Linked DNA regions of Homo sapiens: region 1 is linked to region 2. The links are contacts of gene promoters, found by promoter capture Hi-C in blood cells and fetal thymus (Javierre and others, 2016). All regions are on one chromosome and are shown on one strand. Each heading gives the region's core, a stretch centred on a gene start or on the middle of the fragment in contact. The rest is flanking DNA. Distances are from core to core; before and after follow the strand shown. Region 1 overlaps ZBTB2 (zinc finger and BTB domain containing 2). Region 2 holds the start of CCDC170 (coiled-coil domain containing 170).

What was found. Contacts are between HindIII fragments. The CHiCAGO score rates a contact against its expected background, and 5 or more counts as called.
Region 1: a fragment that was not itself captured here is called in contact with the fragment with the promoter of CCDC170 in region 2 in 1 of 17 cell types (neutrophils); the score reaches 5.5 in neutrophils.

What each region holds. Positions count from the first base shown.
Region 1 is chr6:151,385,613-151,389,388 of GRCh38, reverse strand. All of the region lies in intron 1 of ZBTB2 (zinc finger and BTB domain containing 2), which reads left to right. It overlaps LOC124901232 (translation initiation factor IF-2-like), which reads right to left and starts at 1,069. Exons shown (of 3, transcript XM_047419613.1): 1 at 1,052-1,069. The coding sequence starts at 1,069. RefSeq lists an enhancer at 3,768-3,776. The HindIII fragment of the contact is 3,678 bases long and covers 513-3,776 here.
Region 2 is chr6:151,491,752-151,495,844 of GRCh38, reverse strand. CCDC170 (coiled-coil domain containing 170) reads right to left here and starts at 1,828. Exons shown (of 11, transcript NM_025059.4): 1 at 1,660-1,828. The coding sequence starts at 1,716. The HindIII fragment of the contact is 3,463 bases long and covers 1-2,690 here.

The sequences.
Region 1 (3,776 bases), core at 1,102-3,601, 110 kb after region 2:
TTTATCACAAACCAAAATTATAAATTGGTAAGGTAAATTCCACTGCATTTTGAATGATCTTGTTGTGTATCCAGGATGTTTTCAAACTGTTAAAAGGTCATTTTTTTCTTTTTTCTTTTTTCCTTTTAGTAAGAGGCAGGGATCTCGCTATGTTGCCCGAGACGGTCTTGAACTTCTGGGCTCAAGTGATCCTCCCGCCTTGGCCTCCCAAAGTGCTGGGATTACAGGGGTGAGCCACCGCTCCTGGACAAGAAGGCAGTTTTTAAAGGCATAGTAATTTACCACTAATAGGACATCCTTTTAAACTGGGCATTTCTCATTTAATAAACTTGTGGTTTGTTTGCTAGACAAAGAATTGTCCAGTTATTGAAGCCATCGTAAGTACAAGAAGTGATACGCCGGTGCCACTGATGGTCAACAGTGGAGGAGCAGTCTACACTACAGTGGAGTGTAGTCTACGCCCCTAAAACTTTGTCCTACAGTCCCAGTGCATACTTGCCAGTTTTAAAGCTTCTCTTCAAAGGGGATGTAAATACGTTGATGCTGAGCAATCTCTACCACTAGCAGCAGAGAATAAACGCTAATCATGTTTTAAGTTATAGAATAAAAGCTGCCACGGTGACACCTGCTTTTATATCTTAAACTTTAATATCAACTTTTCAGTAACCTCCAAAATCTGCACTTTTATAAGATAATATAAAATAATAGAAAAATGTGTTCATGGCCAGGGAAAGTGGCTCACGCCTATAATCCCAGCACTTTGGGAGGCCAAGGCTGGAGGATTGCTTGAAGCCAAGAGTTCAAAACCAACCTGGGTAACATAGATCCCACATCTCTATTAAAAAAGAAAAGAAAATGTATTCACCCCAACCCCATAGATATACTTTGCAATCCTGTGATTTCAAGTACCCACAGCATGCCCATGAGTAAGTGGATGTGCTTTCCCCAATTTGAGACTTACAAAATAGAGAAGGAAATATCTAAAGCTCATCTGTAGCATCGGCCTGGGATCAGCAGCTTTAGAGGTGGGAACTGCCCTTCCAGCTCTTACTGTTTCTTGGTGCTTCATTCCTAGCCCCACTCACCTTTCCCTGTAGGAACTTGGAAAAGCTGGGCAAGTCCCGTGGCACCAGCCTGCACAGGAGAGGAAGATTGAAAGAACTGGTTTGCTGGTAATTTTTTTACCATAAAATACCAAATGCACCTGGGAAAGGTCATTTATCATCACTTTTCCTATTTTCTTATGCTCTTTGGCTCTCCAAACATGACTGAAAACCTAAAAGGGAACTGAACATTTTTATTTCCCTGAAGAAAAAAAAAAAATGTAAACATTCTAAGCATTAGACTAAGAATATTTCTAAAACGTTCTTTATGCTCAAGTAGGTTATAATTTGTGCTAGCAAATTAAACTATTAAATAATTAAAATATTACTTCGAATTGATAGTAAATAAGATTCAGTATTTTTACAATGCCGATAGAGCCATTAAGATATGGAATCAGTAGCCACAGAACCCTTACAAGGAGTTGGCAGCCCAACATATGTAGATCCATTTTAGAAGCCAACTTGGAGGCTCATATTTATGCTCAAACTCATAACCCCCAGTTCACATGCTTGAGGTATGCATCACATGCCTTTGAGTGTCACTTTAAGAAAGTTCAGTATTCAAAGATAGGAATTTGAAAAATACTTTTATGTATCTGGCTAAGTACTTAGGGAAACTACTTTTTTACTTTTGTTAGAGATTTTAGTGTACTGTTCTCTTAAACAGGGGGCACTCGCTAAGTTCTGCACCAAGCAGGGTAAGCGTCAGAATCCTCTGGAATGAAGTGCGCATGTTCTCCTGCACCGGGAGAGTCATTTAGGTTCTCTGAGTCCCCAAAGTGATTCTGAACGGCGCTTGTCTAAGTGTGGTCTGCAGATCCTTTTGAAGCCCCAGGATCCTTTCAGGATTCAATGAAGTCAAAACTGTTGTCACAGTAATACTAAGTTGTTATGGCCTTTTCCGCTGTGTTGACAAAATGTCTTCTCAGTGTTGACACTGAGAAGATCTGCTTAATTCAGTGAGCCGATATTTTCCAAATGACCAACAGATGATGTTAAAAATCATGAGTGGGTAAATGATCCGTTGAAAGTGGATAGACCAATGAATATTACTATAATAGAGTAGGAAAAGTTAATTCAGTTATGTAGTTTTATATTACACAACCAACTTTTAAGAAAGTAGACTTGTCAAGTGTTGGTATAATATAAAAGAGGACTGTCCACAATTACCTGAAAAGGCTATTCAAATATATCTCCTTTTTCCAACTACATAGGTGGGTGAGGCTGGATTTTCTTCACTACTCAACCAAAACAGAGTTAATTGAGGAGTAAATGCAAAATCCAGTTGTCTTCTGTTAAAGAGAATTGCAAAAATATAAAAAGACACCACTTTGTTATTTTAGAAAATACAATTATTTTTTCATAAAAATGTTCTGTACTTTAACATGTAATGGCCTTATTGTTTTTAATTGAATTAAATATTTCTAAAATTTCTCCATTTTGGTAATTATCAGTAGTTAAAATCCATATAAACATATAATTGATGTTCTTAATAATTTTTAAGACCATTAAGGGATCCCAACACCAAAAAGTTTCAGAAGCTCTGCTCTAAAATATTGAAACATATTATTAAGACTTTGAGTTAAACACATTTGAAACTCACCTGTGTTATATACCCTGAACTACACATTTAGGTGATTATATTTTCTTCAGATTAATTTTACTAATCATTTTATGGTATATAAAAAACAAAGGCAATCTCCACTCTGGTGGATTATTAGAAGCAGATCAGTTTTTTGTTGTTGTTGTTTTGAGACAGGGTCTCACTCTTTCATGCAGGCTAGAGTGCAGTGGCATGACCATGGCTCACAGCAGCCTCAGCCTCCCTGGCTCAAGCAATCCTCCCACCTCAGCCTTCTGGTAGCTGGGACCATGGGCACATGCCACCACATTCAGCTAATTTTCTTTTTATAGAGACAGGGTCTCGTCATGTTGCGCAGGCTGGTCTCCGGGGCTCAAGTGATCTGCCCGCCTTGGCCTCCCAAAGTGCTGAGATTACAGGGGTGAGCCACTGTCCCAAGCCCAGATTAATTTTTTAATTTTGCCGTGTGTAATCATCTGTAAGTTTCCTTCAGGTTGATTGTAGCATAATGCCTTTAGAATTATTACTTTAATATGAACTCGTTATTAGCCATAAATCTCTGATCTACTTCTGTTTGACACCTAAGATGTCCCTGAATTGCCTCCTTATGACCCCAACTTACATTTGGAAACTAAAAACTAATTTAAGTGTAAACATAGGGAAAATATAATTGAAAACAGGAGTATTTTACAAATGCAGTGCTTTTTAATATGAAAATAAGTGCTGTTTATGCCTCTCTCTTTTCTAATTACTATGGAAGAAGGTTGACTAAGGAAATGTTAAGAAAAAAATGCCACTCCATTATCACAACTAAATAAGATGCATTTTCTACCTTCAAAATACAGTTTTAAAATGTATTAAAATTCAAATGACCAGCCTTCAGGTTTACTTCATGGGCCCTCCAATATTAATTATTAATAATAGTAATTGAAAAATCAGCTTTTCATCCTAGTAAGTGGTCTAAACTACTTGAAAGAATCAATCTTACTTGTGGGTAATGCCTCTGCTGTTACTGATTGTCCTTTGAATTACAATATTCATTTATGCTTCACTTAAATAAAATCAAGGACTTCAGAGGACCCTTTTAGTGC
Region 2 (4,093 bases), core at 579-3,078:
TTCATAGGAGATAACACACCAGAGTATTTACAGATGAAAGGTCATAGGGGACCAGGCATGGTAGTGCATCTCTGTAATCCCAGCACTTTGGGAGTCTGAGGCAGGTGGATCGCTTGAGCTCAGGAGTTTGAGACCAGCCTGAGCAACACGATAAAACTCTGCCTCTGCAAAGAACACAAAAATTATCCAGGCATCATGGCATGCCTGGAGTCCCAGCTACTCTGGAGGCTGAGGTGAGAGGATCGTTTGAACCCAGGGGTGTCAAGGCGGCGGCGAGCCGAGATCGTGCCACTGCACTCGAGCCTGGGTAACAAGGTGAGACCCTGTCTGAAAAAAAGAAGAAAGAAAGAAAAGGAGGGAGGGAGAGAACAAGAGAAAAAAAGGAGAGAGAAAGAAAGAATCATGATGGCTGTAATTTACTCTCAATGGGCTCACCAAAAAAAATATATATTAATAATATAAAAATACCACATACTTATGTATGGTTAAGACACCACATTGGGATAAAAATTAATAAAGTCAAATATGAAAATGTCAGATGAAAGAAAAAACATCTAGTAACTGGCCTCTGAGTTAGAAAGAAAGAAAAAATAGTTTTATTTGCACACAGTGGTACTTATTTTCCACAAATATTCCAGGAATCAGAGAAATCTAAATACAGGTCAGATGTAAAACAACAATCAAAGCTGCTGAATATTAGAAGAATTCCGATGGCACGTTGGAGAATCCAACTCATGTTTTGAATCCACTACATCCCCCAGGGATATCTATGGTCAGTACACAGCGTGGTAGGAAAAGTCCAAAACTTTGGAAAGAAAGAAAAATCCTCCATCATTTACTAATTGGGTGAGTTACTTGCGGTTAGCAGTTGAGCTGAACACAATTCCCCCATCTCTGGCAACTACTCCCAATACACACGATACCCGGTGGGCCCCGATGCCAAGGCCAAAGGGGGATTCTTAACCCAGACTGAGCCAGCCAGATCTTCTTGTGCGCCCAAGTATGCATATGCCCGTGTTCGTGTGTGTGCGCGCCCGTGTTTGTTCGCGTATGTGCCTGTTCGCGTGTGTGCACGAGCGTCTGTGTATGCGCGCATGTTCGTGTGTGTGTGCGCGCGCGCATTGGTACATCTAATACCTGAAAGTCCCCAGTACCTAAGTAACTCCTGGGAGTAAATGAGTAGATGCATTCAGGAACAACTGAATTACCAACGTTTCTGGATTACTTCGCAACGAAAGGGCCGGTGACTCTACTCCGGGCTGGCCCTCCTCCTGCCACATCAGATTTTCCAGAAATTGCTCCGAAGCACACTTCAGTAGCTAAGCAGGGAAAGTTAAATGAAGGAATTCTTTGCTCCCAGGGGTGGCGGGGAGGAACTGCCCGGCCACAGTCTTTCGAATGTCACCGGTTTAAATGGTCAGAGAAGCAGAGTGGCACAACCTAAAATTCAGACGCGCTCCGCAAACTCCGGTCCTGCCCATCCCCTCCTGAAATCAGCGCCCTGGCAGTCCCAGGCCACAGCCCTCGCGGGCACAGAGCTGCTCTGATTCTGCCCACGCCTCCGGGAGGAAAAGGGTGCAAATCAGGGGCGCCTCGGCCCCTCCTGGGTCGTCTATCCCCAGGGCCACCCCCGCGCGCGGCCGGCGGCTGGGACCGTACCTCGGGCGCTGGCGAAGCGGCACCCAGCGCGATATGGCTGGTGCAGTCCAGGCTCATGACGACCCGAGCCCGGGGGCGCGCTCGGACCCGGAACCGGCCCTGAGGAAGCGGCGGCGCCGGGAGCCGGCGGGTGGCGCGGGTGTCTCCTCGGGCAACGGGTAAACACCGCGGGGACGCGGCGGCGCGCGGCTGCGCGCGAGTAGGGTGGCCCGGCCGCAGGAGGCCGGGGTGGACCCCGAACCCCCGAGCGTGGCCTCCGTGGCGAGGGCCTGCAACTGAGCGGCCGAAACTGCCAGGGCGACCTGGGGGGAGTCGGCGGGGATAACGGTCGGTCCTCCCGGTGGGACTCTGCAGTGAATGCAATTCCAGGCCTCATCCTTATGTCAGCGATAAATACAGCCAGTGGGCACTGTGAACGGTGCTGGCGCGAGTGAGGCATAGGAAACTTCACAAGGGTGAACGGAGCATTTATTTAGCACACACTGTGTGCAAATGTGTCTGCGAGCGTGCAACCTGTGCAGGTCCGGGTCCTGCGCTTGGTTTAATACTCAGCTGTCCCAGTCTTGACGTTTTTAGGAAGTTTTGAACAAGGTGTCCTGCATTTTCATTCTGTACCGGGGTCCACAAATTATGTAGCCTGCCCTGGTGTGCGTTCTTTCATTTCACCTTCTCAACAACCCTGCCTGGAAGTACGGGTACTAGTAATACCAGTGTTAGTAACAGCCACAGCTGCTCATTATGAAATACTCGTGCTCGTCCATGCACTGTTCTAAGTGCTTCCCACGTATGATCAATCTCCTTAAATGAAACAAGATTATGAAGTGGATGTTAGAATAATCCATCTGCAAGACAAGGCAACAGTCACAGGGAAATAAAATAAAATTTCCAAGATGTACAGGGTAAGTGGTAGAATGAAGATCAGGCTCCAGATCATAACACTAAAGCACAGAGAAGATGAGTAACTTGTTTAAGGTCCCACAATTTGTAGCAGAATCTGAAAATGGAATCTGCATTCACCTCACTTTAAAGCTTTTGGTGGGCCAGGCGCGGTGGCTCACTCCTGTAATCCCAACACTTTTGGGAGGCTGAGATGGGTGGATCACTTGAGGTCAGGAGTTTGAGACCAGCCTGGCCAAGAAGGTGAAACCCTGTCTCTACTAAAAATACAAAAATTAGCCGGGCGTGGTAGCGGACACCTGTAATACAGCTATTTGAGAGGCTGAGGCAGGGAAAATCATTTGAACCTGGGAGGCAGAGGTTGCAGTGAGCCAAGATTGAGCCACTGCACTCCAGCCTGGGTGACAGAGCAAGAATCTGCCTCAAAAAAAAAAAAAAAAAAAAAGAAAAAAGCCTTTAGTAGACTCCTATGCTGTTTGAGACACATGAAATCAAACAGGTGGGAGGATTGCTTGAGGCCAGGAGTTTGAGACCAGCCTGGGCAATACAGCAAGACTCTATCTCTACAAGTTTTTTTTTTTTTTTTTTAAATTAGCCAGGCATGGTGGTGCACACCTGTAGTCCTAGCTACTCAGAAGGCTAAGGCGGGGCCAGGTGAGGTGGCTCATACCTATAATCCCAGTACTTTGGGAGGCTGAGGCAGGTGGATCACCTGAGGTCAGGAGTTCGAGACCAGCCTGGCCAACATAGTGAAACCCTGTCTCTACTAAAAATACAAAAATTAGCTAGGTGTGGTGGCACATGCCTGTAATCCCAGCTACTTGGGAGGCTGAGGCAGGAGAATCGCTTGAACCTGGGAGGCGGAGGTTGCAATAAGCTGAGATAGCACCACTGTACTCCAGCCTGGGTGACAGAGCAAGACGCCATCTTAAAAAAAAAAAAAAAAAAGAAAGCTAAAGCAGGAGGATAGCTTTGAGCCCAGGAGGTCAAGGCTGCAGTGAGCTATGATCACCACTGCACTCCAGCCTGGGCGACAGAGCAAGAGCATGTCTCTAAAGACAACACAAAAAGGCAAAATCAGAGCTATGGCAGCTTTTCTTGGATTCCATCAGTCATCCTATGTGCATTCATATTGACCCTGAGGATTTCTTCATCTGGACAATGGCTTTTGAGCTCACGGTAACTTTGCCATATATCTAATCCAGAATCATCTCAAGGCTTTCACTTGATGCACCGTTAAAGAAAAAGTTCTTAATGAAAACTTAGGCTTTCAGAAATCTCCTATTAATAGTACAATTTGGAGTAAACACATTTTTAAGTTGTAGTTTTTCCTTGCAGTAGAACCACTACAAACTTGTCAAATTTTCTTTTCTTTTTTTTTTTCAAACAGAGTTTCGCTCGTTACCTAGGCTGGAGTTCAATGGAGCGATCTCTGCTCACTGCAAACTCCGCCCCCTGGATTCAAGCGATTCTCCTGCCTCAGCCTCCCGACTAGCTGGGATTACAGGCATGTGCCACCACACCCTGCTAATTTTGT